3 separate regions of the Homo sapiens genome follow, and regions 1 and 2 are each linked to region 3. The links are contacts of gene promoters, found by promoter capture Hi-C in human tissues and cell types (Jung and others, 2019). All regions are on one chromosome and are shown on one strand. The core of a region is centred on a gene start or on the middle of the fragment in contact, and the rest is flanking DNA. Distances in the headings are between cores, read along the strand shown.

Region 1 (2,700 bases), core at 152-2,651, 62 kb before region 3:
GTTGAGAAATTTATTTTTAGGGTTCCAAAATGTTTTAATGATAGGGCTGAAACCCAAACCCAAATTCTTTGATTTGCCATCGAAATCTCTTTTCATTATCCCAGCCAGGCATTGGTGATGGAAATAAAATAATAGTCTGCTCAAAGAATGTCTGAGGATGGAGATGGAAAACCATTTAGAAAGTTGTCTGGGTATGAGTATAGATAAGGACTTGAAAGAGTAATAGTGGAAATGGAAAGGAAGGAATAACTATGAAGGCTGATAAAACAGGTCAACTATGAAGACAATATATAGTCAGTTTATGCACATGTTTGACTAGCAAGCCCCTATTCACTAGATTTAGTGTTAATCTTTTATAATAGCCATCATTTATTAAGTGTTTACTGAGTGCTTGGACATGGATTTTCTAACTTAAATCCTCTTTGAGGTAGATACTCCCATTTTACCCAAAGAGCATTTTACCAAAAGATCTTTGCCCAAGATCTTTTTTCCTTTTTTTTTTTTTCTTTTTTTTTTTTTTTTTGAGACGGAGTGTTGCTCTGTCACCCAGGCTGGAGTGCAGTGGTGCAGTCTCGGCTCACTGCAACCTCCACCTCCCTGGTTCAAGCAATTCCCCTGCCTCAGCCTCCCAACTAGCTGAGATTATAGGTGCATGCCACCACACCTGACTAATTTTCCTGTATTTTTATTAGAGACGGGGTTTCACTATGTTGGCCAGACTGGTCTCAAACTCCTGACCTCGGGCAATCCGCCCGAATCGGCCTCCCAAAGTGCTGGGATTACAGGCTTAAGCCACCACGCCCAGCCTGCCCAAGATCTTACAGCAGATAAGTGGTAGAATCTTGGTGCCAAAACCTATGCTTTTAACCAATATGCTGTAATGTACCTAAACTGTAGGTGCTAGCTTACTTCCCTATCCTGGAGAGATATGATGGTGGTGAGAAATACCAGTGCCACCGAATTGAAATATACAGTAGTTATTCAGGCCAGAAAAAGTGGAGATAATTCTGAATGTGATATATTCTCGTAGGGCACTTGAAGTGGTCATATATATTCTTCATGATGAGTATAAATTCACTAGAAACTTAAGGCTAAAGTTGAGTGGTAAGAACTTTTGCCAAATATTTAGGGATGGAAATTGGTGTCCAGGGAAAAAGAAAATACTGTAACTTATGTCTCATACTATAATTTCCTCCCTGACTTCTACTTTCTGTTTCTCTCCTGTGGCATTTTAAATATTCAATCTTGTATAATTTTTGTTGATGTGTCTCTTTTACCTAATTCAGTAGACTGTAAATTCCTAAAGGATAGTAATTACTGTGCATTTATGTATTCTCTGTTGCTGTTTTTCTTGTTTTGTATTCTGCATATGTTTATTGCATGCTTAAAAGGTGCCAGATCTGGGTTGGGTGTGGTGGCTCACGACTGTAATCACAGCTCTATGGGAGGACGAGGCAGGTGGATCACTTGAGGCTAGGAGTTCAAGACCAGCCTGGCCAACATGGCGAAACCCTCTCTACCAAAATATACAAAAATTAGCCAGGCATGTTGGTGCACGCCTGTAATCCCAGCTACTTGGAAGGCTGAGGCATGAGAATAGCTTGAACTCAGGAGGCGGAGGTTACAGTGAGCCGCCTGGGTGACAGAGTAAGACTCTGTCTCCAAAGAAAAAGAGAAAAAGAATGTGCCAGATCTGTACTAAGTCTTTAAGAGTGAATAAGATAGAACCTCTGCCCTCCAGAGGTTTATTTCTAATAGGGAAACAAATAATGTAACAAATTTAATACAGTATAATGATTGTTTTAATTGTGAAGTTAAAGGTACAGTGGAAGCTTAATAGAGAATTGAGCAATTTAAGTTATAATTTCAAATTTTTTATAATAATTAACAAGTGAAAAGTCTCAGATTGTGAGAATAAAGAAGCAACCAACTATTTTCTATCTGTGCATCTATACTTGCTGATAGATACATGGAGTACAGGTGTCTGTGAGTTAGTGGAATCTCTTTATTCTTCCATGAGAAGCGTTGGTATTTTAAAGTGGAATGAAATCTGAAAATGATAAGAACATAAAGTAAAAAGTGTTTTATAATAAACATATTTTATTAAAATCTTTCAAAAGTTCATTTAAAATTTACCACCAAAATTCAAAACAATGGCACTTAAAACACTCGGAAAAGAGAACAAAGTGTAATATATTTTTATGTAGTATTTCAAATGTAGTTTATTAGTTTTAAATCCAGTATTTCCTTTCTCACTAAATCTTCCCAAACCAGTAGATAGAAATCCCACTTGGTTTTCTTGTAAATCCCATTTGGTTCAAAAGGAGGGAGCAAAGAATGTAGACCTGAAGTAGGAGTTGGGGCCCGATGATAGCATACGTTGTTGAAATTGAGTGAGTGTGAGACAATAGCAAGTGGTGTGAGTTTTGCTGTGTTTAGAGAAGGTAATTGTTGCCACCTAAGATTATAATCTCAGTGTTGCTGGATCTTCTAAAATTGTTAAAAGCAGCCAGGAATTCAGATTCCTTTTCTGTGAAATGTTCTAATTGATAAATGTTGGCTTGAAGTCTAAAATAATGAAATTAAACAAAACATACCAGGCTGTATTTGAACCGCAAGTTACTACTTTGTGAGCTCATCTGAAATTTCACCTGGGTTCAATTCTAACTCTGCAACTAGTAAGCACTGTGACCTTGCTAT
Region 2 (2,700 bases), core at 111-2,610, 44 kb before region 3:
CTCAAATTTTGTTGAAAATCATCACTGTTGCTAACAGCATTTGTTTGACATTTGGTGGTAATTAGTAGTAGATCTCAGATTTCTATTACATTCCTATTTATTGGCTCTGTATAAACTATAGAGATAATAATACCTACTTCTAAAGTGTGTTAGAAAGATTACATGAATTAGTGTTTGAAAACACAATGCCTGTTACATAGTAGGTATTCAAGTAGTGGTAGCAGTAAAAATTGTTAAAAGTCCTTTGAGGCCAGACACAATGGCTCACACTTGTAACCCCAACACTTGCAGAGGCCAGACACAGTGGCTCACACTTGTAACCCCAACACTCAGTAGAGACGGGGTTTCACCATGTTGGTCAGGCTGGTCTCGAACTCCTGACCTTGTGATCCACCCGCCTCGGCCTCCCAAAGTGCTGGGATTACAGGCGTGAGCCACCACGCCAAGCCTAATTTTTGTGTTTTTAGTAGAGATGGGGTTTCACCATGTTGGCCAGGCTGGTCTTGAACTCCTTGCCTCAGGTGATCTGCCTGCCACGGCTTCCCAGTTTGCTGGGATTTCAGGCGTAAGTCACCGCGCTTGACCCCCTTTCTTGTTTTTGAACTTAGCTTAGCTATATATTAAATTTTTGTGTGTTTTATTTTATCCAGAACTATAATATAACCAACTCATCTTCTTTTCCTGCCCCTTTTTCTTTCCCCTTTTTCTTCTCCTTTCCTCTCTCTTTATTCACTCTTCAGCCTATTTATACTGACTTTAGCAGTTTTCACCAAACCACTTTATTCAAGGCCACCAAACACTTCTATTTGCTAAATCCAATAAATCATTTATTTATTTATTTATTTTATTATTATTATTAATATTATTATTTTTTTTAAAGACTGAGTCTCACTCTGTTGCCCAGGCTGGAGTACAGTGGTGTGATCTAAGCTCACTGCTCCCGGGTTCAAGTGATTCTCGTGCCTTAGCCTCCGAGTAGCTGGGACTACAGGTATGAGCCACCACGGCCAGCTAATTTTTTTGAATTTTTGGTAGAGATGGGGTTTCACCATGTTGGCCAGGCTGGTCTCGAACTCCTTACCTCACGTGATCTGCCCACCTCGGCCTCCCAAAGTGTGGGGATTACAGGCGTGAGCCACTGCGCCTGGCATACTCTTTCTTCTTTAAAACATTTTCATTACTCTTGGTTTTGAAGAATTTATACTTTCCTAGATTAGTTGCTTCTTATCTGTCTTGCTGCTTCTATGTAGATTCCTTTGTTGGCTGCTGTTTATTCTGCCTGAACTTCAGATATTGGAGTTCCTCAGCTTCAGACCTGGGCCCTCTTTTTCTGGCTACATTCTTTCTCTAGGCACAAGAGTGGTCATGACACCATGTTTCATCATCTTTCACTTGGTTAAATTTTCTCCTTTGGGTTTTAGCTTAAATATTACCTCATTATAGATCTTCCCTAATCAACTCATTTAAATAATTAACCACTCTGCCTTATTCTCTTGCAACAACCTCTCTTACAATTTGTAATTATAAATTTTTATTCACTAATTTATATTCTGCTTTCTGTACTAGTCAGAAAGGGCATTGAGGAGAGAGAGTATGTCTATTTGTCTGCCAGTATATATCCTGCATCCAGCACAGTGTGTGGTGCATAAGTACTCAATAAATATTAGTTGAATGAATAAATATTTTGAAATAGTGAGAAAAGCCAGATTCATTTTATGTACTGTCTGAAATATAAACATTATAAAGAATACATTTTTATTTTTCAAGTAAAAGTTACACTGTCGAGTGAAAAATAAATGAAATACCTCAGTAATTCACAGCCTCATAAGATTATACATAGTATCTTGAGATGCTCTCTCCCTGGTAATAGAATTATTTCTCGGCTGGGTGCGGTGGATCACGGCTGTGCTTTGGGAGGATTGCTTGAGCCCAGGAGTTTGAGAGCAGTCTGGGCAATGTAGCAAGAATCTGTCTCTACAAAAAGAAAAAAGAAAAAAAATAGCTAGGTGTTGGTGGTGCATGCCTATAAATCCCAGCTACTTAGAGAAGCTGAATTGGGAGGATCACTTGGGCCCAGGAGTTGAAGACAGCAGTGACCTATGATCACACCACTGCACTCCAGCCTGGGCAAGAGCAAGAATTACTTTCCCCATCTTATTGATCAAAATATTTACTCCGAAACCCTGTCAACTCTGAACTACACTGTTTCTAAAATCTTAAATGTCCTATTATCTGACCATGGTCTTTTTTCCTTCCTGCTGTCACTCCTTTATTCTCCTATATTTTTTCTTCAACTTCACATGACTTTGGAAGCTTTAGTAACTTAGCTCCTCCTTAATTTGTACTTTTCCCCTCTAGCACCACACACTCATGTTTACCTCTCACAGCACTTTGATTCCAACTCCCTTTCCTCCTAGTCCTTTTGTCATACATACTCACCAAAAGCCTGTCCCGTTAGTACAAAATGCATTACTTGCATTCTTTATTTCTATACCCTTTCTGCCAACCTCACTGGGCCCTCAGAGCTGCCAATTAATCCTCTCATGTGTCATGTCCCTCTTAGTCCTCTCAGCTGTCATTCTCAAACATTGGTACTCAGCCTTCATCTTTCCTTAACTACCCTTGTCGTATCTCTGCCTTCCCGTATGTTTTTAGTTAAGAAAGAGAATTTGGACCATCAGGTAGTAATGCCTTCATCTA
Region 3 (2,700 bases), core at 178-2,677:
TTGAAAACTTGAGTGAAATGTAAGTTCATATTTGGCCTCACAGAATACACCAGTAATACAGCAATCACTCACCTGAGGACAGTGGGAGGATAGAAGGTAAGTAGAGGACTGGGTTAAGTATTCGTTCAAGCAAATACATTAATTACACGCCTCCCATGTACTTGACACTGGGAACTCAGCAATGAAGAAGGCCCAGACCAAAGTTCAGGCTTTTAGCTTCCTGTCCTATAAAGGATAAGATTCTTAACTCTAGGCTGAGGTAGTAAATTACGAGGGGACTTCAAAATGGTACAGGGTGGTTGAGCAGGATACGGCAATGGTTAAGTTTGATCAGAAAATAGAAATCAAAAGGAAAATGTGGCTATGGTTACCCCTAGCGGACCTCTTAAATCTTCCTGAGAACCTGCTTTTTTGGGAAGGCATGAGTGCCAGTAAGACTTGGCACTCCTCCTCTTCCGCTTACCGAGAGAAAATGACTTTGCCTTTCTGCTCAAAACTCATCCCTTCACTTTGTCACCCTATGTTTGCATCTTCCATCCTTAGTGTGTGTTTCCATCCAGTCTTTCAGCAATACACGTACTACACATTGGACTCTTGGGTAGTCTCTAGGGCTGTAGCAAGGAGCCTTGCTCCCAAGGGACTCATTTACACAATCCTGTGAACGGACCAAGAGTAAACAGTGTGCTCAATGCTGTGCCTACGTGTGTTAGCCCACGCGGCCAGCCTGAGGAGTCAGGGAAGGCTCCCCTAGGCAAAGCCCCCAACCAGAATCAAGTCTTAATGGTTAAAGAGCTCCATCACCCAAAAAGGATTGAGGGCCTACCTTCAACTGAACAGCTAATGCATAATCTCAGAAACTGTGAGTCAAAATTCCCTGGAATAACTCCACTTTATCCCCAATCTCCTTGCCACCTAGACCAAGGTCCATTCACCACCCTGTCCCCAGCACTGACTGCACTGCTGTGGCCACACTAAAGCTTGGCTCAAGACGGAGGAGGAGTGAGGAAGCTGCTGCACCAATATGGCTGGTTGAGGCCGCCCAAGGTCCTAGAAGGAGGAAGTGGGTAAATGCCATATCCAAAAAGATACAGAAGCCTCAGGTTTTATCGGGGGCAGCAGCTTCCTTCTCCTTCCCCGACCTGTGGCCAAGTCACAAAGCACCACAGCTGTACAGCCAGATGGGGGAAGGGAGGAGATTAGAACTGTAGGCTAGAGTAGACAAGTATGGACCAGTTCACAATCACGCTATCCCAAGCAGAAAGTGATGGTGGCTTGGACTAGCACGGTGGTAGTAGAGATGGGGTAAAGATTCAAGAGACATCATTGATAGGCAGAACCAATAGGACATGGTAATAAACTATTCTCAGGAAAGGGGAGGAGTCATGGCTTTCAGCCATGAGCATCCACCCTCTGGGTGGCCTCACCCACTTCCTGGCAATTCTAGCCACCATGAGTCCAGGGGCTATAGCCCTTTGCTCTGCCCGTTGCTCAGCAAGTTACTTGGGGTTCCAGTTTGATAAGAAAAGACTTCCTGTGGAGGAATCTGAAGGGAAGGAGGAGGAGCTGGCCCATTCCTGCCTGGGAGGTTGTGGAAGAAGGAAGATGGCCAGAGCTTTGTGTCCACTGCAAGCCCTCTGGCTTCTGGAGTGGGTGCTGCTGCTCTTGGGACCTTGTGCTGCCCCTCCAGCCTGGGCCTTGAACCTGGACCCAGTGCAGCTCACCTTCTATGCAGGCCCCAATGGCAGCCAGTTTGGATTTTCACTGGACTTCCACAAGGACAGCCATGGGAGGTGAGCCGTAAGGGAAGTTGGGGTATTGGGAGAGAGCAGGACCCCTCCCCATCACTGCTTCTGGGGGCTTCGAGTTTCCCATTTGCGATAGCAGTTGAGCAAGGTGACTTGTGGGGCCTATTCAGGTTGATTTCTTGTCAAGAATGTTGGGGTCCAGGGGACTGGCTCAGGTGAAGGTATAAGGGCAGGGCACATGTGGGCTGATGGGCACTGAAAACTACAGCAAGAACAAAGGGAAGACAAGAGTTGATGCTTTATTTTTTCCCCAAGGGTCAGTTGTATGAACCACTCCACCCTCAACACCTTGAAATGCAGAGAGGAGGCCGGGCGCGGTGGCTCATGCCTGTAATCCCAGCACTTTGGGAGGCCGAGGCGGGCAGATCACCTGAGGTCGAGAATTCGAGACCAGCCTGACCAACATGGAGAAACCCCGTCTCTACTAAAAATACAAAAAAAAAAAAAAAAAAGAGACCAGGCACAGTGGCTCACACCTGCAATCCCAGCACTTTGGGAGGCAGAGGTGGGCAGATCATGAGGTCAGGAGTTCAAGACCAGCCTGGCCAATATGGTGAAACCCTGTCTCTATTAAAAATACAAAAATTAGCTGAGCGTGGTGGCACACTCCTGTAGTCCCAGCTACTCGGGAGGCTGAGGTAGGAGAATCACTTGAACCCGGGAGGTGGAGGTTGCAGTGAGCTGAGATCATGCCACTGCACTCCAGCCTGGGTGACAGAGTGACACTCCGTCTCAAAAAAAAAAAAATTAGCCGGGCGTGGTGCCGCATGCTTGTAATCCCAGCTACTCGGGAGGCTGAGGCAGGAGAATCGTTTGAACCTGAGAGGCAGAGGTTGTGGTGAGCCGAGATCATGCCATTGCACTCCAGCCTGGGCAACGAGAGCGAAACTCTGTC

Evidence for each region. The method cuts DNA at HindIII sites, captures the fragments that hold promoters and counts their contacts. A contact is called where the count stands out against the background at its distance.
Region 1: a contact is called between a fragment that was not itself captured here and the fragment with the promoter of ITGA2B in region 3, in 1 of the 25 tissues and cell types used here (pancreas).
Region 2: a contact is called between a fragment that was not itself captured here and the fragment with the promoter of ITGA2B in region 3, in 5 of the 25 tissues and cell types used here (IMR-90 fibroblasts, dorsolateral prefrontal cortex, lymphoblastoid cells and 2 more).

What each region holds. Positions count from the first base shown.
Region 1 is chr17:44,450,096-44,452,795 of GRCh38, reverse strand. The region is part of intron 3 of GPATCH8 (G-patch domain containing 8); the gene reads left to right. Among named protein-coding and RNA genes, the nearest start is that of GPATCH8, 52 kb to the left of the region's middle. The HindIII fragment of the contact is 3,187 bases long and covers 1-2,700 here.
Region 2 is chr17:44,432,307-44,435,006 of GRCh38, reverse strand. All of the region lies in intron 5 of GPATCH8 (G-patch domain containing 8), which reads left to right. Among named protein-coding and RNA genes, the nearest start is that of ITGA2B, 44 kb to the right of the region's middle. The HindIII fragment of the contact is 4,000 bases long and covers 1-2,700 here.
Region 3 is chr17:44,388,376-44,391,075 of GRCh38, reverse strand. ITGA2B (integrin subunit alpha 2b) reads left to right here and starts at 1,427. Exons shown (of 30, transcript NM_000419.5): 1 at 1,427-1,790. The coding sequence starts at 1,603. RefSeq lists an enhancer at 1,211-1,270. The HindIII fragment of the contact is 17,139 bases long and covers 167-2,700 here.